4 separate regions of the Homo sapiens genome follow, and regions 2, 3 and 4 are each linked to region 1. The links are contacts of gene promoters, found by promoter capture Hi-C in blood cells and fetal thymus (Javierre and others, 2016). All regions are on one chromosome and are shown on one strand. The core of a region is centred on a gene start or on the middle of the fragment in contact, and the rest is flanking DNA. Distances in the headings are between cores, read along the strand shown.

Region 1 (7,352 bases), core at 1,859-4,358:
TGCAATTAATTCTTGTCTACATGCACCCAAAATGATCCTGAATTGGGAATTCTCATGGTAAATTTGAAAACACTATATTACAACAGAACACATTTGTAAGATTTGGCAAATACTGTTCCCTAGAACTGCAGTCCCCTTCGATTCTTTCTTAGCAACCCAAGATTAATAAAAGCTTGACTTATAGAAAAGATACACATTTTCCACATAAGATACCTAAAAGAAAACACTCCCAAAATTAAATTCATGGGATACTTATGACAAAAATCAATGAATTCATTCTTAATCTAACACTTTTCATTCTTTGAGCTCCCAAAGATTCTACAAATTCCAGGTGAGAAAGGGAGCATTACTTCTGTCAGTGTGCCTAACCTCACCAACAAAGAACAGGAACACACACACACATACACACACACACACGCGCACACACACATGCTTTGTAGCAGCTGCTTTCTTTTTAAAAGACTGCTATTCCTGCAGAGCAACCTGTGATCTTTACAGAGAATCAAAGACCTCTGTTCCTAAAAGTCAAGAGTTGAGAAAGTCACTTGACTGAACGCGCAATAAACAGTTAAAACCAAAGATGTCTCCAAACCTTGTATAAACCAGAAAAGTACCCACACACTGTACAATTCAGCAGTGTTTAAGAAAATTAAAATTATTTTTAAGAATCTTTTGTGTGGGAGTAATCTGGCAAACTACATTTTACTCAGACTTTTTCCTGTAGACAAATATTCTTTGATTAGCTTTGCTCCTTAAATACCCACACTTAATGTTTCAATCAGTGATGCTTTAGTTCCCAACTTCATTTTGTTTGCAAAAAGAAAAAAAAATGCATACCATAAACCACAACTTTTTTTTTTAATGACATCCCCAATGCCGAAGTTTCAAGTACACTTTGGGAACTGGAGCTCTAATTAAACAAGAAACCAGTGAAGCCATTATGAACAATGATGCTTTCTACTACCAATAATCAGTTGACGTGATACTGCTCCCATGCCTTCATTCTCAGGGTTCCCTTTCAAATTTCATTGTCCCCATTCTGGCATAGCTGAGTGAAACCGAGATAAGAGGTAAACGGGTAACTTCTGTCTTCTGTGACCCTTAGCATGTAAACCGGACGCTGAGGTCCAGGACATGATCACTACAGCATATGCCATTTTAGAAACCGGCCTCGGTGAGTTACTGCCACATCCTAAAGTGGCTTTAGACTTCGTCGTGTCTAAGACAACGTCTATTTCGGTACGAAAGACATACAGGACCTCGAGTGCCTCGGCAGCCTCTGCGGGTCGGAGCCCCTATAAGTGACACAACCCCAGAAATCAAGGAGCGGGTGACTCGGGGATGGACAAGAGTAGCTGGCTCTCAGCGTCTCCATGACTCCCCCGCCCCGCATGCAACTCTGCTCTAACTGGTCAGGAGAAACCCCGCCCCCTTCCTTCCTCCGGTCCGCACGATTGGCTCACCGACACCCGGCAGGTCAGCTCCCTGCCTTCGATTGGCTCACTGCCCCATCAGTCAGACGCACCGAGATTCGGGTCGGTGGGAGGGGAAGGCGTCGGAGGAGGTGGAGAGGGAGTGGGATTAGAGGACGAGGTGGCGGAGGAAGGTGTTCAGGCTCGGTCTCTGGTTTGGGAAAGTTTCCCCTACCAGTGACGGACCCAGAACGCGGGAGGCCCAGTCCAGCTCCGGGCCAGCGGAAGGGGGCTCCAGTCCCCGATTCCCGCCCCTCGGTCCCGCAGGCCCCGGAAACCACTAGAGGGAGGGGAAGAGGGAGGGGCCATCTAACCAGGGACCGACCCACCCCCGGTCTCGGAAGAGGCGCCTCTGGGACTCCCCCGAGGGGAGGAGGCGGGGAGCGCAGCCGGCAGCGACGACCCCGGCCCCCTCCCCCAGCACCCCCCAGGGGCCCGAGAGGGCCGGGTCCCCGTGCCCGGGGCGTGACCGTCGCGAGGCGGCCACAGGGCCCCTCCCGCTTCCCGCCTGGGGCCCCGAGGGCCTGTCCCTTCAGGGGCGGAGAGAAGGGGGCGAGAAAAGGGGGCGCTGGCGAGCCAACCCGGAACCTCCCGGTCCGCCTCCCGCCCCCGGCCCCGGCCCCAGCGCGCCTCCTGCATACACGCCCGCACCCAGAAAGTTCAGTCAGGGGCGAGCCCGGCTCGGCGCCGCCGGGGCCCGGCCCCCGGCTCCCCGCCCCCACCACGGCCCGGCCTGCTCGGCCCCAGCGCGCCGCCCGCCCCGCCCGCCGCAGCTCCTTCCCGTCCGCCCGCGGTGCTCGGCGCCCCTCGCCCCCCACCCCCGGGGCTGACACGGGCCCGGGCCACCCGCCGGGCCGCGGCTCCCCTTCCCCGCCCCGCGCTGCAGCTCGCCGGCCGCCCCGACACCCCGCTTCACCTTCACACACCCCCAGCACTTCCCGAGTCCTGCCTCCCCTCGCCCGGCTCCCACTCTCCGCTGCAGCCGCTCCGCGCTTCCATTAAAGAATGCACCTTCCCAGGATTCACCTTCTCGGCTCTGCCGCGCTGCCCCCGAGGGGTTAGAGCCTCGGTCTCCGCCGACCCCGCACCGGGCTGGGCAATGGGCACTCGCTCCTCGGGGCGGGGGCCGCGCCCGCACCCCCGGCCGCGCCTCGGCGCTCACCTCTCGCCCGCGCCGCGGGCTGCAGCCTCCGCCCGCCTCGCGCTCCGGGACTCGTCTCCTGAGCTCTCGCAAGGCGCTGGAGCGCCTCCTTTCTCTCCCGGGGACTCCGCGTCTCCCCGTCGCTTCCCGCCCTCCCCACCCCCAAGCCCCAACTCCCCAGCGTCGCTGCGCCTCCGGGATGCAACTCCCGTTTTCCGCGCACTCCGGCGGCGGTCCCCGCACACAAAAACAGCCTCTCGGAGGCGCACGGCTCTGTCGGAGCTCGGCGCAGGAAGGGCAGTCGCGGCCGGGGGTGGGGACGCGGCGCCCCCCGCCTGCCGCCCGCCCCCCGCCCGCCCTCGCGGCCCCGGGGGAAGGCGCGGTTACCGGCTCGGGTCGGTCACGCCGTCAGGTGCCGGCTGCCGTCGGCGCTGACCTTCGCCGCCGAAGCTGTAGCCGAGGCTGCGGCCGCCATGTTCCCGTGTTAATAACTGCTGCCTGGTTGTTTATTTCAATGGAGATCCTCCCCCAACTCCCTCCTCCTCCTCCTCCTCCTCCTCCTCCTCCGCGTCTCCGCACTTGCGGAGAGACAGACAGCGCGAGCTCGCGAGCAGGGGAGGGGGCTCGGGAGCCAGGCCGTCCCTCCCTCTGCCTCCCCGGCAGTGGCCGCCGCCAAGTCCTGTCACCGGGAAAAGGACGGGGCGGAAACTTGCCTCTCGCGCCCCCGAGGAAGGGGCAAAGGTGGACGCAGGGTTGTCCGGGGAGCAGCCCCTGGCCGCGGGGTCCGCAGCATCTCCGTCGGCAGAGTCCTCTGAGAAGGCGGCCCGGGGAGAGGTGAAGAAGAGTAAGGGGACAGGGGACAAAATGGGTGACTGTGGTAGAGGGAGGGTGACCTAGAGGTGACTGGAACTGAAGAGAGAGTCAACAGAGGACTGCATGGGAGGGCAAAGGGCAATGCCAAAAAGAAAACTAGCGACTGGGACGGGCCTGGGCCGCTGAGTTAGAGGCAGTGGGGCCTGGGGGCTGCAGACGGCAGGGACGGTGCCCCAGGACGAAGATCGGGGAGAGCCGAGTTCCAGGGTCGCCAGCAGAGGACCCTCGCGCCCGTCCGGCCGGACCCTTCGGCCAGCACCCTGCACCCCCTCGGGCGCACCTCACCCTACCCAACTCCCGGTCCTGCCGCTGCTCCCCGGAGGCGCCCCGCATCCGTCAAGTCCCCTACGGCTCCAACAGGGAGAGGCTTCTCCCATTGCAGTCCTAGCTCCAGAGGGGATGGAGAGGCGCGACTGTGGGAGCTGGAAGGGGCACCACCCGGCAATTGCGGGATAAAGCAAATGCTGCACACAGAGTGTGAAACTTAACCTGGTTGAGAATTTTCGGCACATCATGAAATCATAAGTTTGTATTGGAAAGTCCATTCTCTAGACATCCGTGAACAAAGTACTGAGGGGACGTAGGAGATTGGCACTGAAAATGCGAGAACCCCCATTTAAGTGTTACTTAGACCAATCTGTTTTACGCTTTGGAAAAGCAAGTTTTTTTTCCAACTTATACGGTAATTAGTTGAAAAAAAAAACTTTTGTTTAATGGCAGTTATCAAACTATGAGAGGAACATATTCCCTGATTTTAATCTTATAATGAGAAAGGTCACTTGCGGTAGACAATAAGAGTGTTTATTGAACACTTACTGTGAATCTGACTGTGCTAGGTGATGTATATATGCTATAGGCCTTAATCCTCAAACCTTCCGAAGTCATTGCCGCTTTTCACTTCACACAAAAAATTGAAGCTTAAAGTAATTTGCCCAGGGTCACAGCCAGTAGTTGGAGAGGATGTGAGCCCAGTTCTGGTGAGCTCCAAAGCCCATGCTTTTAAACATGTCTTCATCCTAAAATTTGTGGGTGTACCGCCAATTTTATTTGGGAAAAGAATAAAAAAAATGTGTGGGGTGTGTGTGTCTGTGTTTGTTTGTGGATAGAAAATGCTTGGAAGCCTATAACAACAAATGTTAGCGCTGGGGAGTGTAAGAAGTGGGTGATGAGGCACTTCCACTTTTTATTTTGCACACCTATCTAATGTTTGAAATGTTTGCATTGACTATGTATTAATGTATATTTTTAAAGGTTTTTTTTTTTTTTTTTTTTTTTTTTTTTTAGCTAGCTGGAATAATAGAATTATGTTCCCAAAGCGTTGAGAGGAAATGGAGAGTTTGTTTATGGCCTATCTTCTGCTAATACCAGTCTGTAGCTTGTCTACAATGGGGTAGTAGTCACCTGAGGTTTGTCACAATTCTGAACTCCCGATTTGCTTTCCTGTCCTCACCCCCAACTGTGAGTTATCAGGAGTTGTGATAATAAATAAATAAATAAATAAAAATTTAAAAAAAAGATTCTCCTTCTTGCTTGCTATCCCTCCCATTTTGGCAGAAGTCCAGAGTCTATCAGTCCTCTGCAATCGTAGATTTCACACTTTTTAAAACTACCCATGATACCTCTGCAAACAAATGACTCCCCCCATTGCATTCCCGTATTACCCAATAAAACGTCTTACGACGGCTGAAGACTTTTTCTTACAAGAAATAAACAAAAACGTCTGACAGCATAGTAGATGAGTTCCATGCCCAAGTGCTACTCAATTGCCTGAGCTTGAATTGAATTGTGTGACTTAAACGCGCTCTGGTACAATCTCTGGGTGCCCTCTGAACTTCAGGCTCTTGCTGTAACAGTAGTCTGTCTTGCACTAGAGTTGTTTATATGTTTGTCTTTCTCTTTCACTAGATTGTAAGTGCAACAGAGCCCAAGACCTAGTCTTGTTCTTGTTTGTACATGCTATAGCACCTAACAAGGAATGTATGATGTTTGTTGTTTCATTGAATTTGTGAAATATAAATAATAGTATCTATTCCGATCCTCATGTCCTCTTCCCCACCTCATCTTCCAATCCCTTGCTCATAAAACATGTTTATAAAAAACATCTTCCATACTTAGAAAGAACTTTGATTCCCATGAGACCTCAGAACAATTGTTTATTAAAACTAGCCATAATTTTTAGTGAATCATCACTATGATAATGTAAAATGAAAAGGTAGAGGAGGCGGTAAATAAGTTGGCTCAATGACACAAATTAAGAAAGGAAGAAGAAGGAAAGAAAAAAGAAGGCAAAGATATAGGAACTAGGTATATTACCAAGAGAGAACAACAAGGAAAAAATATGTGGGTGCAGATCATAAAGGGGAAGGAAATTATTGAAATTTAGTGGAAGTAGAAATAACATACCGTGAATGGATGAGGCAAGGAAACACCAAAAATGTCAGCAGAATCATAAATGCAGCATGGAAAAGTAAAGAAAATGACAAATTATATATTTAACAATATAACCTAGGAATAATCAGAACAATATGACTGCTACAAGACAAGAATTTCTATTTTTGTCTGCCTTTTCTTCCACAGTTTTCAAAGTACTCACTTTTTTCATAAGTAAACTGCATAAAAGTGGGAGATTCTATACTATTTTTGAGTTAATACTACTAGCATACATCATGAGATTAGAGGTAACAGTATGGTAAAAAAGAGCTATAGAATATAAGCAAATAAATATGATGTGAAGTGGTCTCTGTAAGTTACTGTGTGACCTCAAACAAGTCACTAAATATCGCAATTTCCTCATCTGTGTAATTGTTGCAAGACTCAAAATGGTGTAAATAAATGTACTTTGTTAACTATCAAGCTCTTTATACAGATGTAAGGGAATATTATTATGTCAGCTAATATGTAGCACAGTTATCTCTGTTTTGGTGCATTCCTAAATTGCCAAAGCAAAAATCTATAGTTCATTCTATTAAAATGTAATCATAGGGTGGGGGCGTCAGTTAAAACATTTGTTTGTCAATTTGATTATTGAACGACTGTGATGAAATGTTTCATTCTTATTGTTTGCTCTCTTCTAAATCCCTTAAATAGTATAACTACAATAAACAAATGTCTAATATAAGTCAAGCATATTACATAAATTTTTTCCTTACTGAAGTAGTCATTGTATGTATATTATTCTCATTTTATGTACAATAAAGCTGAGCTTCAGAGACTTCAAGTAAATTAATGCAAAGTCATAGAACTGCCTTCGCTGCATATCTAAGATTGTGTTAGGATTCTACTCTTCATCACTTGTATTTCTACTACTCTGAGAAACACATTGGCTGGGCGCAGTGGCTCACGCCTGTAATCACAGCACTTTGGGAGGCCGAGGCAGGCAGATCACGAGGTTAAGAGATTGAGACCATCCTGGCCAACATGGTGAAACCCCGTCTGTACTAAAAATACAAAAAAAAAAAAAAATTAGCTGGGTGTGGTGGCGCGCTCCTGTAGTCCCAGCTACTTGGGAGGCTGAGGCAGGAGAATTGTTTGAACCGGGAGGCGGAGGTTGCAGTGAGCCAAGATCGCACCACTGCACTACAGCCTGGTGACAGAGCAAGACTCTGTCTCCTAGAACATAATGCATACTCAATAAATGATCATGAAAAGAATGAATAAATGAATGAATGGGCTCCCTTCAAGTCATACTGTACACTGTCACAGGATTGATCCCCTCAGTCTTATTTTGTTACTTTCCCACTTGAAAACACTTAATGATCCTTCATTAACTATGGAATACAATTCAAATCCTTCATCTTAGATTAAGAACCTCTTTGATATACCCCCTCTATTCATACCTCCCTTATTTCTCCCCCTCTATTCATACC
Region 2 (7,352 bases), core at 1,560-4,059, 3.7 Mb before region 1:
ATTCTGTCGCCATGCTGTAAAGGAACTGGTTCCTTTTCCATTCCTGCCTGTGGTGGCATTAACTCTTTAGGAGGAAACCCGTATCGAATACACTGTAAATATGGAGGAATGTTGAATTCTCTGGCTATACTTTCCTGAAGTTCAAAAAAGGTTGTTGAAGACTTAAGGGTAACCATGGACTGTCGTCCATCATTAGTTGTGATTCGGATCTTCTTCTCCTTAGAAGTTGTCGGTGAATAGGGAGCCTTGGTAGGTGTAGCAGGTGCAGAGGATGGACCATCACGAATGGTACTGGGAGAAACAGTCCTGGGTTGCCCTTTTTGTTCTTGTTTTAACTTCTCTGTTTTCCGTTTCTGCATTACAGAAGCCTGTTCCGTAATATTCTGTTGAATAGTTCTTTCAGTTTTACTCATGTTTAACTCCTCCTTGTGCAAAGTTTTTGTTTTCTGTCCAGTAAGAATAATTTTAGTTGGGAGCTGAGACTCTGATTCTTGTCCTTGAACATCTCCAACTCTTTGGGCGTGAGCACCATCTATATTTACAGGAGTATAATCATCGGGATTCTTTTTGGCAGTCTGATGCAATATAGTGTGGACAACTTTCTGAACTAGGATTTCACTCCCAAATTCACCTGGAAAGTGCTTGGTAACAAGTTTCATTGCAACATCGTAAACATTACTATTCAAAGATGAATCACTTTCATACTGGAACCAATATACTGTTTCTCTGACCACTCTTCCACCCCATTCTAAAGTAATAGGGAAAGCTTCTGGTAGATTGTCATACTCCTTACCATCCCAAAAGTGTTTGAATCCACAACCACATTTGCCACCAGTGGACCTAGAATTAGTTCTGTCTCCATCCAAATACACAATAGACCCATCTCCTCTGACCTTTCGCACAGATGTGCCATGGCACCAATTACAAGCTGTTAGGTTACTCATTCCATAGTCTGGTACCAGAACATCTTTCACTGAATCATATGAGCAAACCAAATTGTTCAAGGGAAAGCTGTAATTTTTGTCAGTCCTCAGCTGTCCATGAGTACTTTTTGCCAGGTTATACAATTTCCCTCCAGGAGCCAACCACTCTGGAGGAACATGAAGTTCAGAAAGGGCACCACAGAGCAAACATTTGTGAAGGCGATTATCCATTACTGCTTTTTTAGCAGCTGCTGTGACTTCCTCAGGCTGAACTCCTATCACTCCAGTCCTTCTGTAGAAATACTGATGGACATCAGCAACCAAACTAGGATGGATACCATGTTTGTCCATAAAGACTTCTTCCATAGCAGCAACAAGCCTAAGTAAGTATTTATCTTGCAAACTTCTGTCACCTCCAATAACACAACCACCATCCTCTTCAAGTTTTATGTACTTTTTAATAAGGTCCTGAGGCACACCCCATGCTTTAGGAAGCAAATTCATAGGCAGTTTGGGCAAAGCAGCCCCTTTTATGCCTACCAAGGGGATATAATGGTTTCTACCGGAGCTGCTCCATGCAATACAGATTGGTTTGTTCAAATGACCATCTTTCCCAGTGCACTTCTCTGCAGGGATGAGCCCAGGTAGAAAGGTGGCTGAATAATCACCAGAGCTTCTCATGCCACTGAGGGAATCTAACAGAATAATAGGACGATGTAGCACATTGGCAAGACCAAATATGTGGATATTCCTCAGGCCCAAGGGAACACCCTCAGGTGGTACAAACAGAGGGTCACACTCATTGATAATGTCCTCCCACTCAGCAGCATCAATGAAGTCATGGAACAGAGCTTGATATCGGGCCAGGTGCTGCTGAAAGTGCTGTTTAAGATTCTCTCTTAAGGCATGCCAGAAGAGCTCTCGGCCTACTAGAGCCCGAGACACAGCATGCACCAAGCAGTGTCCATCCCCGTCCACATGCACTGGAATGAGACATTCCTGGCTTTTATTGGCCCGCTTAATGTCCTCCAGAGTGTCATGCAAATACAGGAGGCTTCCGGAGCGGTCCTTGCCATAGCCCACAGTGTTAACATGCTCTGGTTCTATGAGGAAGGCGCGGTCACCCAGTAAGGCGCAATCGAACAGTTCGCCCTGGTTCATGTCCCGGAGAAGCTTGGCCCGGCCTGTCTGTTTGTCCATTCCATAGCGAGCTAATATGGGCGACAACAATTTGCAGTGATAGTTGGAAAGGCCCATCACCTTTACCAGTTCCGTGTTCTTCTTGGGTGCCCCCGTAACCCCGAGCAGCGCGTTCCGCAGCAGGTTGTGTAGCACTACGTCCGGGTCGGTCACCTCCTCAACCCCCAGCAGCTGTTGCTGCTCGTGCCGCTGGCCGCACTCGGTACACTCGATGCTGACAGAACCGGAGGCCGGGAAAAATAGACGCGCCTGACACTTCGGATCCGGGCAGCTCCCGGAAAGGATTCTCCGGTCTCTCCGCTTCAAAAGCCCCCCCGAAGCAGCCGCCGACGCCAAGGACGACGGAGTCTGTGGAGCCTCAGGGGGAGGAGGTGGCGGCGGCAACGGAGGCGGCGGCGGCGGCGGCTGAGACATAGCTCCTGGCTCTCGTGTCTCGCTCCGCGTCCCAGGCGACCCTCAAAAGCTCATAGCCCAGACCCCCACCAACCCGACTCGGTCCAGTCCAGGCCCAGGGCGAAGCACTTTCCTTTCCCTACCAGCTCTTCCTCCTCCTAAGCGAAGGCGGAAGCGCCGGACGTTGTTTCTCTTCTTACTTCTCCACTGCCGTAGCCGTTGCCCCGAACGTAACGGCCACCACCCCACCCCGCACTCACACTCACTCACTCTCGCTCTCTCTCCCTCAGACACAGACATACACGCCCTCATTGAGTGTGCGCAGGCGCAGCTTCCGCTCTGCCCTCTGGGAATTAGAGTCTTCCAGCCTCTGTGCTGGCCATCAAGCCCTAGGATCTTGAGTCCAGAAGGAACTACAAGTACCGTGAGGCCAAGCGGTTCAGCGCTAGAGGAGAGGAGGAAGAGGACGGCAACAGGAAAAGGGGCGAAAGAAAGATGGTGACTCGCGTTGCCTGCCGGTAGTTGTAGTTTTACTGGGCTCTCCTTCGTCGTCTTCCCCACTCTGCAGCCCAAGGCAAAGAGTCTGAGAGACCACATTTCCTAGGATGCCGTGCGGTGCGTCTAGCTGCACTTCCTCCTTAGGCGGAGGGGAGGATTCAGGGAAGCTTGGTTAAAAACAGTTATGGCAGTGGGAGTCGAAGCGAGGGTCTGAAGTTCACGACTACTAGAAGGGGAGGGGAGTGGAAAGGCTCTCAGTGAAAAAGGTACAGTAAATAAATGTCCAGGGATATTGGGGGCTGGGAAGTTGAATAAATGGTCTAATCTAGGCTGGAGGCCATAAGGGGGAAAACAGTTGATTCTCGGAAGCTCTGCCTTCTCCCCCTCTCTAGTGCGAATCACTGAGGCGCCATTTGATTTCTCGTTTCCTGCATGTTTTGGCAGTTTACAGTGCAAATAACGGTACCTTGGATGTCTGTAGAGTTTTGTGTGCATATACAAATTCTCTTAACTAGGTTTAATTTCATTTGCTCTTTACCACCCTACTCCCCAGAGAATAATAAGAGCCATCATGTGTTAAGTTCTTAATATGTGTCTGGACAGCATTTGCATAACACGATATCATTTGATCTTAAAAAATAACCTTCTTAGGAAACAGGCCCAGAAAGGAAATGACTTGCTAAAGTTCACGCAGCTGATAAGTGAGTGGATAGACATTCAGATCTCAACCTGTCTTCTTTTTACAGATCAGGACATAGGCAGGAAAGGTTAGGCCTGTATTACATAGAATAGTAACTAGCATTTGCTTACTATTGCCTTATAGTTTACATATTTAATAATATGTTCACATGTATCATCTCATCCTCACACCAGTCCTGTAATACCTTTACCAGGTGGTGTTGACTTCATTTACAATCAGGGAAACTGAGACTAAAAGGAATTAAGTGACTTGCCCAAGGTCAAGTCACCAGTTATGCTGGATCCCAATCTCAAACCTTGAGAGTGATTTTTACGCTGCTGCTTACCAAAAAATCCCGGCCGGGCGCGGTGGCTCACGCCTGTAGTCCCAGCACTTTGGGACGCTGAGGCGGATGCATCACGAAGTCAGGAGATCGAGACCATCCTGGCTAACATGGTGAAACCCCGTCTCTACTAAAAATACAAAAAAATTAGCCGGGCGTAGTGGCGGGCGCCTGTAGTCCCAGCTACTTGGGAGGCCGAGGCAGGAGAATGGCGTGAACCCGGGAGGCGGAGCTTGCAGTGAGCCGAGATCACGCCACTGCACTCCAGCCTGGGCGACAGAGCAAGACTCCGTCTCAAAAAAAAAAAAAAAACCCAAAATGTTAGGCTCAAATCTTTTGCTAGGCCTTAGAGTCTCCTCTTAGTGATGAAGGGATGTTTAATGTTAAGGAGGCAACAGCTTTATTCTTTTTTCACTTGGGTAGGAAACTGCCTCTTCATACAGAACAATATTCATATGTTAATTGAAAGCTAGTATTATTTTTGTACATTCATCCTCTTTCACTTATTACGGAAATTCTTGCTTTCTGGAAGTTTAGTATCACCTTAGGTAAGTGGACTACCTCAAAATTTCTGAAACATTTGGCACCAACTAGAAACATTAGTGAAGTCCATGAGATCATTTGAGTCTTCTGTAGCTGCCCAGGAAACCGCCTGATTAGGTTGTGTGTGTGTGTGTGTGTGTGTGTGTGTGTGTGTGTGTATGTATGTATGTAGAACTTGATGCTTTGAAATGAACCATCTGCAAAATAGAGGCCCATAAAGGGTATTAGTTTTGATGTGCACCTAATTGCTACAATTTTCTTGAAAATAAATATTTGAAAGAGAAATCCTCCATAATGGACCTTAATTACAAGAGAAGTGATTTTTCCTATCTTGGGATATTTTTCTTTCTTTTTTTTTTTTTTTTTTTGAGACAGAGTTTCACTCTTGTTGCCCAGGCTGGAGTGCAATGGCGTCATCTTGGCTCACCCCAACCTCCGCCTCCCAGGTTCAAACCATTCTCTTGCCTCAGCCTGCCGAGTAGCTGGGATTACAGGCATGAGCCACCACGCCCAGCTAATTTTGTATTTTTAGTAGAGACGGGGTTTCTCCATGTTGGTCAGGCAGGTCTTGAACTCCTGACCTCAGGTGATCCGCCCGCCTCGGCCTCCCAAAGTGCTGGGATTACAGGCGCAAGCTACCGTGCCCGGCCGGAGGGGGTATTTTTCAATAAAGTTTTTCTCAGAGAATTCATGCAAGAAAAGTTGTTTATTCTAACAAGTTTGGTGGTAACTACACAGATTGGTTTTGGCACTGATTTTTTATTAACAGTTGAATGCTTTATAAGTAGAGAAATTGGGTATCTCCTTTAAGTGGAGATTATTTTATGCTGTGACGAAAATGTTACACCTGCAGTGAAAGTTTTTCTCATACAGAATCCAAATAATTGAATTAAAGCTTTGTAGCACATGAGATGACAACAGTCTGCAATTCTAACACTGTCAGGTACTTTTATATCTTAACAACACCAGGCCAAATTTTTCTTATTGATGATACATATACATAGTGAAGTAGATTTTTAAAATTGTATTTGAATATGTCATTCTGAACCATACTATGACAAAATAATCACTTCCCACCCCACTGAAGAAATGAGAAGCCTTTTTCTGGCTTGTCTAGATCATTTAATAAGTTTGTAGATGCACTCAAAGTTCAGAAAGAAAGCTAACATAAAGGGGCAATGAAATTAACCATGTCAAGTTTAATATGTGAATTAATTCTTTATTACTAGCACTTAGAAGGCATGGATACCTACAAAGAAAAAAAATTGTTAGGTCAAAAATAGGACATACTGTTTCTTATAAGACCGGAGGAGTGTAGAAAGCCTCTCCTGCTTATGCAAGATCTGCAGGCTTCCTTCCTCTTTTCCTCCCAAATTCCATGATCTTGCCTAATGAAGATTAACTTAACTACCTAATTAACTTTCACAGGATTTTTGTGGGGTAGATAATAGTTCTTGTTTTTAGTAGTCCAGATGAAAAGAATAAGCTGGGCCTCTGACATTAGCTGTGCTGATACACGTCTCTTCTACCACCATCACCCCAGCATCACTAATACCTAAATTGCCAAAATTCAGTTAAAATAGAAATTCATCTTTTTCATAGTTTCTAGTATGGCACTTGTAAACTCCCTATATTGCTTTTAACAAACTTGGTAAATGTAAATGCAGAAGTCATCCACTTTTACCAACAGAACAACCATCATTGTTCTTGATCTTTTATATTTTATATATATAAGGAAGGGAATCATAACTTTGGGGATTGCTGTAAGTTGGCCACATACCTGCCTATATAAACTATACATCTTTACCAAGAATTGACTGTGTTCTTCCAGACCCGTGCCACGTATAGTCAGACTTCCAGTCACAAGCTTCGACTGAAGCTCAAAGTGGATTTGGGAGGGACTAATTATTGAAGTAGGTATTATAAGAATTTAAAGGGATGCAAAATTTCATCTCTGTCTCAAAGAAGCTTAGAGTTTAATAGAAGAGGGAGGCTAAACTAAATTGTTCATAAATATAAGTAGAATAAAGCATGTAATCAAAATAATACAGGAAATATCACAAATGCTATGAAAATTTAATTGAGGGCAATTTATTATAGGGCAGTGTTTTGAGTATATCATCTTAATCTTTAAAACACTCCTGTGATACAGTATTGTCCTTATACGGATAAGATTTAACTCTAAAAGGTTAACATCGTTTTTATTACCACCAGCTATGAAATAGAGCTGGGCTTCAAATCAAGGTTTTCCTTGTTCAGCACTCACTCTTTCCACTACATCACAGCTGCTTACTGATTTGAGAGAGAATTAGGCAAGAAGTCAATACAAACTGGTGACCAGTAGCCAAACTTGGCTTGATGTAGTTTTGTTGGGTCAGCAGGAGTTTAACTTTATTTTTTTTGAGATGGAGTCTCGCTCTGTCTCCCAGGCTGGAGTGCAGTGGCGCGATCTCGGCTCACTGCAAGCTCCGCCTCCCGTGTTCGCGCCATTCTCCTGCCTCCGCCTCCCGAGTAGCTGGGACTACAGGTGCCTGCCACCACGCCCGGCTAATTTTTTTGTGTGTATTTTTAGTAGAGATGGGGTTTCACCGTGTTAGCCAGGATGGTCTTGATCTCCTGACCTCGTGATCTGCCTGCCTCGGCCTCCCTAAGTGCTGGGATTACAGGCTTGAGCCACCGTCCCCGGCCTTTTTTTTTTTCTAATGTGAATGTGTTTGAGCAGTGGCCAGTATTCCACTCTTTAAGACCTTACACCAGGGCCCCTTGAGACAAA
Region 3 (7,352 bases), core at 1,886-4,385, 3.5 Mb after region 1:
TTCTCCACTGCACTATCACCTTCTAATATAATAACACACTTGGCCGCGTGCAGTGGCTCACACCTGTAATCCTAGTACTTTGGGAGGCCGAGGCGAGTGGATCGCCTGAGGTCAGGAGTTCAAGACCAGCCTGGCCAACATGGCAAAACCCAGTCTCCACTAAAAACACAAAAAAAATTACCTGGGCGTGGTGGCCAGCGCCTGTAATCCCAGCTACTCAGGAGACTGAGTAGGAGAATTGCTAGAACCCTGGGAGCGGAGGTTGCAGTGAGCCAAGATGGCATCACTGCACTCCAGCCTGAGCAACACAGCGAGACTCCATCTCAACACAAAAAACAAGAACAAAACACAATTAACTTAAATATGCTGTTCTTATCTGTCTCTTCTTATGAGACTATTTATTATTAAATCCATGAGGGCAGAAATCTTGTCTGCTTTTGTTCATTGCTATAACCACAGCAACTAGATAAGTGTCTGACACATAGAGGTCCCCCAAAAGATAACTGGCTCAGTGAATAAACAAAGTTGATAATTTTATTGAAGATTTATGTATAATCTAGTTGTCTTAAAAGAGCCAAATGTTGCCATTAAGATAGTCAGGATATAAATTCTGTATAACAAAGATACAGAATAACCACACAGAAAGTAGGGTTGTCTTTCAAAAAGCTTGACATATATATTAAAATATTCTTAAAGATACTACCAGCAAATCTGCACTAGATATTTTAAAATACAAATAAAAAGGGAAAGACTTTTCAATAAATATAGGAAGCATCCGTTTTCCATTCCTCTAACCAGAAAACACAGAAGAATAGAGAGTGATAAGATTTCGATGGAACAAGGTGAAGGAAAAACTTAAAAGGGTGGTAAGAGTCTGAGATAGTAATACTTAGGGCACAGAAAAATGCACTATTGCACTGTCAATCAAGTATTTGTTTCCAATTCTTAAGACATCATGTAGGCCAGGCACGGTGGCTCACACCTGTAATCCCAGCACTTTGGGAGGCCAAGGCAGGCGGATCACCTGAGTTCGGGAGTTCAAGACCAGCCTGACCAACATGAAGAAACCCCGTCTCTACTGAAATACAAAATTAGCTGGGCGTGGTGGTTCATGCCTGTAATCCCAGCTACTCAGGAGGCTGAGGTGGGAGAATCGCTTGAACTCGGGAGGTGGAGGCTGCGGTGAGCCAAGATCGCCCCATTGCACTCCAGCCTGGGCAACAAGAGCGAAACTCCATCTCAAAAAAGAAAAAAGACACCATGTAAAGTTCAAGTTCAAGATTACCAACCTCTCTCTTACAAACAAATCTGCCTTTTCCAGATACTAAATCTAACGAGATGACACACTACGTTCTCTTGTCAAATACAAGTGTTGTGGATTTTAATCTTAATGTTTAGCCTCAAATAATGTTTTAATCTTAATACAGATAATAATCTTAAACTTGTCATAAAAAATGTTTTAATCTTAACACAGATAAAAATCTTTAAGTGGTAATGTAGCCTATTGCATCTACTGTTCAACTAGCATTCCACTGTTCCTTTTTTGGCCTCAAATGACGAAACTTCTCCAACGTCTCTGGGGAGACTAGTGTAAAGTATAATGTTTCCTGAAATTGTTCCTGTTTTTTCCCTGCACCATTCGTGATATCTCTTCAACTAGAAATGTTACATAAAACTTTTCTGTTCTGCAGGCAAGTCCAGAGGGAGAAGCAAGGTAAAGAGAATATTGTAAGGAAAACAGGTTGAAAGGGGAATAACATAAAAGCACAGGAGTAAATGTGAAGCAAAGCTATATTTGTACAAAAGAGGAAGAAGATGCAGAAAAGGGAAGAAAAACACTTTTAGCAGAGTAAAGAAAAAAAAATGGAGGAGGAACAGAGACTTGCTTCTTCCAGAAACAAAAGCAAAAAACACTTCTAAGAAAATGTGGTCTCTTTACCCAAGGGGATATTATGAAAACGCTAAAGGGTACTCAGCTGACACTCCTATTGAGCGTTCTACTTTCTCTTCCAATGCCTTTGATACCGCTAGTCTTCACCTGTGAATTAAATGCAGGCTACAGATAACGCACTCAATCCCTGCACAACTACAATTGTGGTTGCCATCTTTGCCTGGAAACAAAAAACAAAAAAACCCACAACTCCCTAGATTCGGGAAAAAGGAGTAAATTAAGTTGGAAAGCCAGAAAACCACGCCTTGCTAAGTCGGGGGGATATGGCACAGGTTAACAAACGCCTCCTACCAAACTAAGGTTCCACTAAAGGTCTGGGAATAAGGGCAAAGAGATGTATAGCCTTATCGCGACCGCAAGGGTGGGGCCTTGCAGTGGGAAACAAAATAGAAGGCAAGCTATCCCGAGAGGTTTAAGGGGGCTGAGGACTCGGCTCTCGGGAGATCGCCCATCAGGCGGTGGACACGGGGCAGCTTCGAGAGGAAGGAGACAGTGGACTGCTGGAGGAATGTCCGCGAGAATACCGAGGCTGATGGAAATAGAAGATACCCACGGGCACAGGATTAAGAGTCAAAGGGAAGAAGAGAGGGACGGGGCCGAGCAGTCTGGGGGGCCCGGCGTGGGAGGCCGGAGCAGAGGCCGCTAAGCGCCGTCCGCAGCCAGCCGCCTTCTCCGGAGACGCATTCTCGGCTCCCGCACACTCAGCCCCCCGCCGCCCCTGCCCCGGCAACAACCGCGGGCGCAGCTGTTTCCGTCGGGCCAGGGACAGCGGGGGTAAAGGCAACCCTGGGGCTGGCGGGCAGCAGACTGGCAGCGCCCGTGTGTGTGTGCGGGGAGCCGATTCTGAGACCGCCAACGCCAGACTTTGCCCTTTCTTCCCCAACCCTCCTTTATCACCCAACTTCCCGGCCGGCTGGTGTCCGCTTCGACCGACGGATACCGCACCCCCCACAACGCCTCTCGCCGCCTCTTACCCCTCCCCCGACGCCCTGAGCTGAGGGAAAACAGGCCACCCGGACCGATCCCGAACCCGCCCGGGTGTCCCCGAATCGCGGACGCCACCCCCGCCCGAACGCTGGCACTCTCTCGGCGGCTCCCTGGCCCGCCCAGATGCAGCAAACTCCTCTCACCTGCATTGACGCCATGATGGAACCATCCCCCCAAGACCGGCGAGGCCAGAGACGCAGGGGGAGGAGCTGCCGTGCTCGCGTCACGCCGCGGGGGCTCAACATCCCGGGCGCGGGGGCGGGGTCTGCGATGGGAAGGGGATGGAGCGAGGGGATTGGCTGGCGCGCAGGGCGGACGGGAGGAGGGGCTACGGGGCGGGGCGAGGGCGCGGTAAATGGCGCTCTGAGTACTTTCTGTCTCAGTCCGGCTGGCCGCTCACGCGTCGGGCCCCCATTTACTCTCGTTACTGAGGAGACACGGCTCCAGTTTTGACCCGACTACGGTTGTTTTCTTCGTGTGTACCGCGAAATGCTGATGACGTCCGGTTCCGCGCAGTTTTTTTCCTATTTCGTTTCCAACCACAGTTGTGCGGTTCACAGATTTTTCCCTTGGGATGTGTTTTCCATACCTCCAAGCCCACTCTCAGAGCCTTGGGGCCCCATAAAACTTCATGCGCAGCTGCTTTCTGGTATTTGCAGACCTGGAAGGCTTCTCGTATTCTTAATTTGGGGAAGAGAGACATAGGTTTCCTTGTACAACGGGATGAGGATTTAAGAGCAGAACGACACTGATATTTTAAAGGCGAGGGTATTTAGATTTGTGGAGCTGAAACTTGCCTGAAAAGGGAGACAAAATTTGGAAGTTTGTTGTGTGCAGTTTCTGCCCCTTACCCCCGCCCTTCACTTTTAAACTGCGCATATATCAACAATAGTTACGGTTGTTGCAGCAGTCTAAATTTGATTATCAGAATTGACCCTAGGCATGAATTTTTTTTTAAATATACCAATGTCGTGTTATATACACTTATACCATTATGTCCAGACTTCTCTTAAGCATAGTTCGTGGTGGGCAGTTTTGTGGTCATTTAGGGATGAACTTGGGTAGGGAAAGCTGAGCATACATAATTTATTTTAGGAATGCACCAGTTCTGCCAACATTTATCAGAAGTCACGTTTTTAAAAAGCTATTCTGGAACTGAAGATGTCATTGGTTTATAAGAGGAAAATGGAAGCCAAAAGCTTACACCTCATGCTCTATCTTTAAAAATTAAGGTGGCAGACACAATGAGTAGAAGGCTTTTATGTTACCAGAATGAAGGCTTAAAATCTGTCATTTTATTGACTCGGCTTTCTTTTTAGAAATTTCTTTAAGATATAAAAGCAATGTGGAATATCACTCTTTCACACTCTTAAAATAGATTACGTTCTCTGGAACTTCTCTAATCTGAAATGTGTTCAAAAAGGAAAAAGATCTTTAAAATACGCCAGTTAGTCTATGGTATAATATTAAACACTATTCATCACTAGAGAAGTTATGGTGGTATACCCTCCCCTTTCTCAGATGTCCACCTTAATGCCAGAAATGAGCGGAGTTTCCCTTTGTTGTGCAAAATGACTGTGTCCTTGAGGGATGTTTGGATGCTCTTGGTAAACCGGAATCAGCCAGAAGCATATCCGGTGTTAGCCTTGTTGTGTCATCAACATTACAACAGTGAGGAAACCCACATATTCCAATGAAAGAGGAAAACTTAAAGAAGAAGTTTCCAGTGTATTTTCTTTGAGATATATTTATTCCTATGACCTCAGAAGATCAGCTTTTACCGTCCAAGGTTCACTTTGCCTAAAAGCTGATTGTTCCTGTGGAAACAGTAGCATCGGATGACCCTACAAACAAAGCATTATGACATCATCAGAGCCAACAACCTGGCATGACAGATACTAATAAGGAAAAAAGAGGTTACAAGAATTCTGACACTCATCACAGTGGATCCAATATCTGGTCCCTTGGGTTTCATATATGTTAGAAGTATCTTCTCAGGAGGGAAAAGTCAATGCCAGTCATATCCTTTCTAGGTAATACTAAATAGCACATAATAACCTGTCTTCTTTTTTTTTTCTTTTTCTTTGAGACGGAGTCTCAGTCTCACCCAGGCTGGAGTGCAATGGCGCGATCTTGGCTCACTGCAACTTCTGCCTCCCAGGTTCAAGTGATTCGAGTAGGTGGGATTACAGGCGCACACCGCCACGCTCTGCTAATTTTTTGTAATTTTTTTGTATATTTTGTAGAGATGGGGGTTTCACCATGTTGGCCAGGCTGGTCTCGAAGTCCTGACCTCGTGATCCACCCGCCTCAGCCTCCCAAAGTGCTGGGATTACAGGTGTGAGCCACTGCGCCCGGCCATTCTTTTGTTAATATTTAATAAAAAGATCCTGACATAGGAGCCAAAACAGTGACTTACAGATGGTATGGGGGGTATATAATTATCTCCAGTGAGCATGTAATGTTAATATCTAAAACACTATTATGCCATGTTTGAAGACTAGGCTCATATTTCTACAGAGCGAGGCTTACTATCATTACTATCAGATAGGCAAAAGTTAAAATGTCTGACAGGATAATGCCAGTGCACTCCAGTCTAGGTGACAGAGCAAGACCCTGTTGTCTCAAAAAAAATATCTGACAATACCAAAAGTGAGAGAGGAAGTGGAGCTCTCATAAACTCTATAGGAGTGACACTAGTGCAATCACTTTGGAAAATAGTTCGGCAATAATGAAGTTAAAGTTTCCCATATCCTTACTGGATCTTCTTAATAGCATCATATGAGTTTTATATATATTTATATATATATTATAAATATATATATTTATATATAATATAAAATATATATATTATATATTTATATATATATTTATATATATATATATATTTTTTTTGAGACGGAGTCTCAGTCTGTCACCCAGGCTAGAGTGCGGTGGCGCGATCTTGGCCCACTGCAACTGCAGCCTGCCGGGCTCAGGTGATTCTCCTGCCTCAGCCTCCCTAGTAGCTGGGACTACAGGCATGTGCCACCACACCTGGCTAATTTTTTGTATTTTTAGTAGAGACGGGGTTTCATCATGTTGCCCAGGCTGGTCTCGAACTCCTGGCCTCAAGTGATCCACCTGCCTTGGCCTTCCAAAGTGCTGGCATTACAGGGATTACAGGCCATGCTTGGCCACGTAAGAGTACATTGAACAAATGCATATGTTAACATTGTTTGGATCTAGATTCAAACAAACTGTAAAAGAGATATTTTTGAGACACCTGGAGAAAATTAAATATAGAGTAGATATTAGAGGATATTAAGGAATTATTATTTTTGTTAGATTTGATAATGATGTTCACTTTTTCATTTCCACAGCTATTAGAAATGTCCATCAGCTTACGAGGAGATTCTCCCTCATCTCACAAACTACCTGCATCTCCACTTCCCTGGAAGAAAAAAAAAATCTGGACATACCCAAGCTGTGTATGTGCCTGAGATCTTCCCTTCCAAGGTAAAGAGAGAGCCTGAGACAGGTCTAAATTAGCATCTGGACTTTCTGCTAGTAAAGAAAAGGAAATATGGGAAACTAAATAGTAACATTAAAGGACCCACAAAGGGACTACTGGGTAAGTGCTATAATGGATAATGTAATGTGATTTATGAATGCTTTTGTTCTAGTGATTTATTAAACTGGGAAGTCAGAAGCAGTCCTGTGAACATTTGTTTGTTGAAGCATGAAAAGGCAGAATTGATGAGTCCTTGCTTGAGTCTATGCCTCCACCCAGTAGTTTGTTCTTAGTCTCCTAGGGGCTGATCTCAGCAGAGAAATGGAGACAGTTCAGTCACCAACAGTTTGTTACTGGATTTTGGAAAAGGTACCAAAGTAAGAATCCAAGGCTTGTATTCTTATCTTAGCTCTGTGATTAACAAGCTTAGGTAAGGCTTCTAATCTTTCTGGGTTTCTTTCCTTATCAATAAAATGCGCAAGTCAGACTGCATAATCTTTATGGTTTCTTCCAAATTTCAAATTCCATGCATCTATTAAAGAGAATCAAAATTGTGCATGATTTGTCTAAAATACCATGTTAAAAAGTCTAAGATAAAATGAAATGGGAATTACATACCATTTTGAGTTTAAAAATCACTTTTGTAAATATATTAAGGAATGAACTTGGTTTTATTGCAATTTATGTAGAAATACTGGGAAGTAGAGGGGGCTTTGATTAACAATTTTAAAATGCTGATGCAATCCAGTCGAAATATAGATGGGATTTCATAAAGTAGCAAAAATTCTATATTCATAATTCAGAGTGATAACAAATGCATATCTATAAAGCAAAAGTGTGTTTTTAAAAGTAATTTTAAATCCCAGTCATTTCATTTAAGTCTTCTAATAAAGGATGAAGAAGATGAACAAAATAACAATG
Region 4 (7,352 bases), core at 4,095-6,594, 3.3 Mb before region 1:
AGCATTCTAATAAAAAAAAAATACTGTTTCTACTTTCCCCCCACCCAGTTTGGTGGCTGTAGGCTGGATTTTGCTTACAGATTTATTTTTCTTCTCCTTAGGTGATGTACTTTTGTTCTAATAACTATTTCAGATTGCGGCCTCCTGCCAGGGAAGGAAATAGACCTATAGATTTAGCTTGTTTTTTCTCTAGTACCTGGCAGAATGCCACAGGCACACAGATACTTATTAATAAATAAAGACTGCTTTTCCAGTAAAATTAACAATATATAACATAAATGTATTACCCTTTGCTAGGGACAGCTTGTGGTAGTTTACTATTTTGTAAATATTATTGAATTGTTTTAATAACAAGAGATATTGCTAATGTCTTTAATAATAAGTCAAATATTTGGAATTTAAAAAATGTAAGGACTTATAATTTTAAAAATTACTAAGCATTCCTACCGTCCCAGCTACTTGGGAGGCTGAGTTGGCTTGAGCCTAGGCGATGAAGGCTGTAGTACACTATGATCATGCCTGTGAATAGCCACTGTACTCCAGCCTAGGTAACACAGTGAGACTCTAACTCTTAAAAAAAAAAAAAGTTACCTTTGGGTATGTCCTAAAGGCGCCAAGATTCACTTTCCCTGCGGATATTGTTCTTGTTGGATCAATCTATAAGAAAGATATATTTAATATCTGCTGATATAAAACTGTATGCCTTTTATTTAAACATTATAAACCTAGAAATGTATACATACATATAACACTATATACATACATAATAACCAAATAAGAATAAACCAAAAAACCATAAAAGTTCAGTAAGAGGGTAATATAAGTGTCTCACAGCTAACTTAGAGATTCAAATTATTATAACATTTAAGAATATTATTTGAAGGTTTGCTCATCTATTTTTAAAAAGTTTTCTTTTGTCCTTTTAAGAGGTGAATAACTCCTACCTTCCTCATAAAACCTGGATTGCACTTAAAACACCCTGAACATAATAAGAGCTGCTCTAGCAATTCCTGCTTAACTCAGTTCAGTCAACACTGATTGAATGCCTATGATGAGCTGGCACTGAGACATAGATGCTATGACTACCCACAATTTACAGAGGGGAGAAGCAAGATACACAGTGGTTAAATAATTTGCTCAAAGTCCCAGCTTCTAAGAGATGGAATTCACATTGAAACCTAGGCAGACTGATACCAGAGCAATTTCTCTTTACTACACTATTCTTATTTCTCAGTATACTTGCTTCAGCAAATCTTCATAAAGAACTTAATTAAACTGGTTTTAAAATTCTTACCACCACTGCTACAAATGGTTCCTGGAACTGCTGATTGAGCATCTGAGTACTAACATCAATCCCAGAAAGCCAGCAGCCATAGCCAGGGTGGCTATGATACCACCCGATTGCATTTTCAAGGCGGCCAACCTAACAAATGAAGGGGCAAAAAAGTTTAAGATTACTCTTTAATTAATTTACAAGGTACCAGTACAATAAGGGTAACCAGTCTCCTTCCCATCTCCTTCTCCTCAATTACCCACTTTTCTCAGCCCAGATGCGAAATCTATGGGCAATTGCTTACCCTTACAGAGATATTCTTTGTATACAGAATACATATTCTTTGCACATACATAGATTGATAAAAACACACACAATAGCATACCACATAACATAATAATGTTTTACACTTTGTTTTTTCACTCAATAAACTGCTTTGGAGTTTGCTTCATATAAATCATCAATATATATGATGGTTATCTTTTTATTTTTTTTTCTTTTAAAGGCTGCCTGGCAGTCCACTGATGGATATACCATAATTTATTTAGCCAGTTTTATACTCAGGAACTGAGTTAGGTTGTTTCCAAATTTTTTATTTTAAACACGTATCTGATAATAAGTGTGAGAGTTTATTTAAAAAAAAAATAAAATCCATGCCATAGACCGGGTGCAGTGGCTCATGCCTGTAATCCCAGCACTTTGGGAGGCTGAGGTGGTGGATCACCTGAGGACAGGAGTTTGGGACCAGCCAGGCCAACACAGAGAAAACCCGTCTCTACTAAAAATAGAAAAATTATCCAGGCCTACTGGTGCACGCCTGTAGTCCCAGCTACTCAGGAGGCTGAGGAGGGAGAATTGCTTCAGCCCAGGAGATGGAGGTTGCAGTGAGCTGAGATCACGCCACTGCACTCCAGCCTGGGCAACAGAGTGAGTCCCTGTCTCGAAAAAAAAAAAACAACAACAACAAAAAACAAAAAAAACCATGCTATAAGTCTTATCAGGCTTTTAATCTCGTACATTTTACATATAAATCATTAAAATTTAAATATAAAATTTCATGTAAAGGGGATAATTTTAAGTTTAGAAACTCAAAAGTCACCTTGAGACTCTAACTTGCAATTACTAAACTATAAGAAACAACATTTTTACCTGTTTTGCATTTTCTATGTATGCAGCCATGTATTCATATGCAGCAGCCTGAGCATTTACTCGGGTTTCAGTGCCCTCCACAGGCAAAGCAAAACTGTCCATAATGATCATGGTTTCACCATCCACCTTTCCTAGCATCAGACCCATCACTTCCAAGTTGCCTCCCGATCTGGCATGCATCACCATCTTCAGCAGAGCCAATGCTGAGATTTTGCAGTACTTAAAGTAATGGTGACTGCAAAACAAAATCACAATGTAATTAAATTCCTTATATAAAGTAAAATTTCAGAAAAGTTTTTATGAAGATAAAGAGTAAGTATTGAAGGAATTTAGAGCGATGGAAAGGGAGTGTAGACTACGGGGAGAAAAAGTAAAAAAGGACAGTTTTTGCAGGCTGGAAACAATAAGTATGTCATAGTGCAGCAACGTATCCCCCTTAGGGGAGGGGAAAAGTCTGAAATACTTTTTTAATATGCTATTCAAATAAGGGAGTAACATGACCAGTTCAACAGACTTTTTCTCCATTAATTTGGAATCACCCAATCTTGGATTCTGACTGCTTGGATGGTTGTGCCTAACTGTTCTGAGGCCTAACCTTCTGGCCTAATGGTTAAGAATGTGGGTTCTGACATTCATCTGCTAAGGTCTGAATCTTGACATTGCCATTCCCTAGCTGTGGTATTGGGACAACCCTGTAATATCTGTGCCTAGGTTTCCTTTTCTGTAAATAGGGATATTCATAATTGTTGTTAGGATGAAATAAATGAAATAATGTATATAAAGTGCTTAGTGCCTTACACATACTAGAACCCTAATAAGTGCTAGCTGTTATCAGCATTATTAACCTGTCTCTTAACCCTACTCTCAAAGAACAGAGTGTTGAAGGGTGGGCTTCCCTGTTATATCAGCCTTAAATTAAAAAGTAGCCCTAATATCCTAGTCTCCTATGATCACTATTTCAGAGTTGGTCATCAGTGAATTAAACTCTTGAATAAAATTACATTTTGGTCTCATTAATGCAGCCCAAGACAGCTAGGATGAATATAATTAGAGCCACAATTAGACAGTGAGGCAGGCCAACAGTTTCCAAATATTTAAGAGTACACGAACCTAAAATGCACAGCCTGTTACAGAAGCAAGCAGATAACCAAGCAACTTAAGCAGCCTTACAGAGCAGTCAGTCAACGTCTCTACAAAGCCTTTTTAGATGTCTGCCCACAGAAAGAATCCAAATTTAATTCCTAAGCTTTGCCAGATTTCAACCAAAAGCTGAAAAATGTGTAGACCTCATGTTGGAAGTCAAGACATGAATCGAAATCTTGGCTTCTCCCTTTACTGGAGAAAAGAAGAAAGACAAGTTACTGTGCTCCTATTACATACATTCTAGACGACTCTTTTTATACATTATCTCACCTAATCTCTATGACAATACCAATAAGTAGGTCTTATTTCCATATTATGACAAATGAAGATGGATAAGTAAATTTCCTAAGGTCAATCAACTAGTTAGTGACAGCTGTGAGATTTGATCTTAGGTCTGACTATTGCTCAGTTGAGAGTTCACTTATGTCAGTATGATCATAAATTACATAACGTATTTGCTTGTTTTTTAATTTGTAACAAAAGGATGGATATACTGTACTGGGTTGTCATGAAAATTAAATGACGTGGAAATCTCTAGCTAGGTGCTTCCGCAGTTCACCATTGTGGAATCTGAATACTGAGAGACAAGGCTAGCCTTGTAAAAAAAACTGTGAGGCAGTAGAAGTATGTCCTCTTGTTGACCACAGCTTTCCTTTCTATCTAACCATTAGCTTTCGTGCTCTTTTTACTCTCAAACATAACCCGTAATAATTATCTTTTCCTGATAGCAGGAAATCTCTCAGGAGATGCTCTCAGGAAAAGATAAATATTATGGGTAAAGATCCCTCGACTTGTCACCACTCCCAGGGAAAAATGGATATTGTTGAAGGGCAAAAGGTCTTAAGCTCTATTTTTATAATTTCTGGCTTATGGGAACTGGTGGAGTAACATTTTAGAGACCAGGTAGTAGAGCCTCCGTGTGCCTCCGAAATAATTACCAGCAATCAAAAAACTATTATAGGCCCAGGCCTCACGCCTGTAATCCCAGCACTTTGGAAGGCGAAGGCGGGAGGATCGCTTGAAGGCAGAAGCTCGAGATCAGCCTGAGCAACACAGCGAGGACCCATTTCTATTAAAAAAAAAAGAAAAGAAAATAGCTCATAGCTATTTTTGAGACCTTGGGCTGCTGACTCGATTTCTGAAAACAGCTGCAATCCCCAGTTTGGGATTAGTTGAAGACCCAAACAAGGTGCATGTCGACACTGGGCTCAAGGTAGGGTGTGTGGCATATATGACAATACGGATGTTCAGAAGTGACAACTTAAATCACCGCTTGTTGTTCTCCCCTTACATCACCCGGGGGCAAATGGATTAAAGCGACAGAAAGGGGAGTGAAAGCCCCAGCGGAGGGCTTAGGCTCTACTTGCAGATCCAAGACGCATATTCTGTCCCCCTCCCAGTCGGTGAAAGCTCTTCACCCCTTTCACCTCCCTCTCCCTCTGGGTCTCTTAAACTCCGCCACCCTTTCCCTCCCCTGCGTCTCGCCAGGGACCTCCTCACTCCTTAGTCCAGGGCTTCGCCGCCAGGATTTCTTGCTGCTGTTTCTTGTCGTATTTGTAGATTTCATCGATACTCTGAGCTTCCTGCATGTTGTTGGCCAGTTCCCAGGTTTTCTGGGCCATACCGCTCCCGGACGCCGCCATCGCCGAGGAAGCGGAGAAGTTGTCGTCTCTACAACCAAGACGCAACTTTACCTCGCTAGGTTTCCGGGTGTGGGCCTTGACCCTCCGCACCACGGGAACAAACTCTTACCTAGACTCTTGGGGCAGCCATGACACCTAGAACCGGAGGTGAAGTTGGTAGAGACCATTCAGGGAAGACAGGGACCTTTCCGGGACATGACGATATAAACAGCAGTTACAGTAATAGCGAGAGACGAATCTTCTTGTTGCTTAAATGAGAACATCTTGTCTCGGAAAATTATATGTGTGAAATAGAACAAACAAAGTTATAGGGTATGGGAGTGGTATAGTCTTCCGCACCGGAAGAAGGGCATGTAACGTTATTCCAGAAACTGGTATTTGCCTTCTCTGCTTCTAATGCGCAGGCTCGGCCTCCGCCATATTAAAGGTAGCTGGAGCCTTAAGAGCGGGATGTGGAGGGCGGAAAGTGTTTTTGTGTGGGTATAGGTACCTTAAATGAGATAAGTTTGTTGAAAGACTAAAAGGTAAGGCTGTCTGTTGTACAACTGAGCTAAAAGTCGTTCTGGAAGCTGGTTGAGAGGAAGATAAACATGGCATTCCCGTTTACTTCAAGATGACTCACTGTACATGCGTAAAAGCTAACGGGCTCGTGGTGGCTTGGCACTTCACTTGCAGATGGGCTTTTTCTATCGATGCGAGGAGGCAGTGGGTACTCCTTGATTGCTTTTTTGCGCTTTGGTAAAAGTTAACATCTACGTATATATAATGTGCCATTACTGATCTGAAAATGTCCAGTACTCAGTTCTCGTAACAGGTTACAGTTAAATCTTTGGCACTCCTGTGAACCGCATTTGTTCCCAAAGCGTAATTAATCTGGGTAACTGGTTTGTTTTCTTCCTACAGTTAATACAATGTTTAATTTTTTTATTAGTTCACGTGTTTTAGGTTTTCTTTTTTCTCCATCTCATTCTTCCATCCGTGCAAGATTTTAAGTTTCAAGACACAGGGAGCAGGTCTGCGTTCCTTGTTTTATCTCCTAGCACCTAGCATAGGTGTTCAAGATTTTTTTTTCTTTTATTTCCTGAAAAGATAGCATGACAGGCCAGGCGCGGTGGCTCACGCCTGTAATCCCAGCACTTTGGGCAGCCGAGGCGGGCTGATCACTTGAGGTCGGGAGTTCAAGACCAGCCTGGCCAACATGGTGAAACCCCGTCTCTACTAAAAAAATACAAAAAAAAATTAGCCGGGCGTGATGATGTGCGCCTGTAGTCCCGGCTACTCATGAGGCTGAGGCAGGAGAATCGTTTGAACCCAGGAGGCGGAAGTTGCAGTGATCCGAGATTGCGCCACTCCAGCCTGTTAGACAGAGCCAGTCTCAAAAAAAAAAAAAAAAAAAAAAAGAAAGAAAGAAAGAAAAAAGAAGAAAAAAGAAAAGATAGCACCACAGCTGTTAACAACCTGGCCCCTATGCACCTCTTCCAGCTTCATCTCTTTTTAGTCCCCCCTTGAAACTTTTCATTCTAGCAATGCAGATATCTTTACTTTGGCTTTGCATATGTGGTCAGCATTGCTTGAAACGCTCTTTCGTAAATTTTCTGCCTGGGAACTCCTATTAATCTTTAAAAATGCAGTCCAGTGAGATCGACCACGAACTCTTTCTTGACGCTCCAATTACCATTCCTTCCATTATGTCTGTAAGTCTCCGTAGGTGCTTCTATAACTGTTACAATGCGTTGTAATAATCAGTTAAGACAAAAACATTAGAATTATTGAATCCACACCACAGCTTGCTGTTTTGGCACTGACTTTCCGTTGAAGAAAATTTCCTTTAAAACCATCTTACAAAGAAATTTAGGGTAAAATAGTACATTAATACCTACCCTTAGTTCCACTCTCCTGGGAAACTAGAGGTCTCTTTTCTAGTGGTAGCATATGGCCATATGCGATTGTATTGGGGTGAACTGAATAATATGTTGAAAATGGTAATGAAAGCCCAGGACCCAACGTTGACCACACTCCTGGGCTAGGAGTAATGCCCTGAGAGGTATGCCAACACTTTTCCTCTCACTACCACCCCTCCCCATTTTTCTTTCCAGGCTCTTACACTGTTCCTAAGCTGGCTGGTGCATGGGAGGCTGGAGAGG

Evidence for each region. Contacts are between HindIII fragments. The CHiCAGO score rates a contact against its expected background, and 5 or more counts as called.
Region 2: the fragment with the promoter of VCPIP1 here is called in contact with the fragment with the promoter of NCOA2 in region 1 in 5 of 17 cell types (non-activated CD4 T cells, M0 macrophages, fetal thymus and 2 more); the score reaches 8.8 in non-activated CD4 T cells.
Region 3: a contact is called between the fragment with the promoter of UBE2W here and the fragment with the promoter of NCOA2 in region 1, in 6 of 17 cell types (non-activated CD4 T cells, naive CD8 T cells, naive CD4 T cells and 3 more). The highest score is 12.8, in non-activated CD4 T cells.
Region 4: the fragment with the promoter of COPS5 here is called in contact with the fragment with the promoter of NCOA2 in region 1 in 1 of 17 cell types (activated CD4 T cells); the score reaches 9.1 in activated CD4 T cells.

What each region holds. Positions count from the first base shown.
Region 1 is chr8:70,400,700-70,408,051 of GRCh38, forward strand. It overlaps NCOA2 (nuclear receptor coactivator 2), which reads right to left and starts at 3,109. Exons shown (of 23, transcript NM_006540.4): 1 at 3,001-3,109. RefSeq lists silencers at 1,706-2,365, 2,396-2,685, 2,726-3,035, 3,726-3,885 and an enhancer at 3,506-3,625. The HindIII fragment of the contact is 4,231 bases long and covers 171-4,401 here.
Region 2 is chr8:66,664,422-66,671,773 of GRCh38, forward strand. It overlaps VCPIP1 (valosin containing protein interacting protein 1), which reads right to left and starts at 2,810. Exons shown (of 3, transcript NM_025054.5): 1 at 1-2,810. The coding sequence starts at 2,537. C8orf44-SGK3 (C8orf44-SGK3 readthrough) reads left to right here and starts at 3,175. Exons shown (of 19, transcript NM_001204173.2): 1 at 3,175-3,280. It overlaps C8orf44 (chromosome 8 putative open reading frame 44), which reads left to right and starts at 3,175. Exons shown (of 2, transcript NR_161217.1): 1 at 3,175-3,280. RefSeq lists enhancers at 1,698-1,757, 2,008-2,527, 2,898-3,407. The HindIII fragment of the contact is 1,085 bases long and covers 2,095-3,179 here.
Region 3 is chr8:73,875,727-73,883,078 of GRCh38, forward strand. UBE2W (ubiquitin conjugating enzyme E2 W) reads right to left here and starts at 3,136. Exons shown (of 6, transcript NM_018299.6): 1 at 3,082-3,136. The coding sequence starts at 3,096. It overlaps LINC01617 (long intergenic non-protein coding RNA 1617), which reads left to right and starts at 3,256. Exons shown (of 3, transcript NR_147034.1): 1 at 3,256-4,971; 2 at 6,301-6,436; 3 at 6,604-7,348. RefSeq lists enhancers at 1,819-1,868, 2,345-3,222 and silencers at 2,609-2,868, 2,889-2,938, 3,079-3,368. The HindIII fragment of the contact is 3,471 bases long and covers 665-4,135 here.
Region 4 is chr8:67,056,789-67,064,140 of GRCh38, forward strand. COPS5 (COP9 signalosome subunit 5) reads right to left here and starts at 5,345. Exons shown (of 8, transcript NM_006837.3): 1 at 5,066-5,345; 2 at 2,423-2,657; 3 at 1,295-1,423; 4 at 592-657. The coding sequence starts at 5,208. RefSeq lists enhancers at 5,012-5,101, 5,282-5,551. The HindIII fragment of the contact is 5,475 bases long and covers 3,667-7,352 here.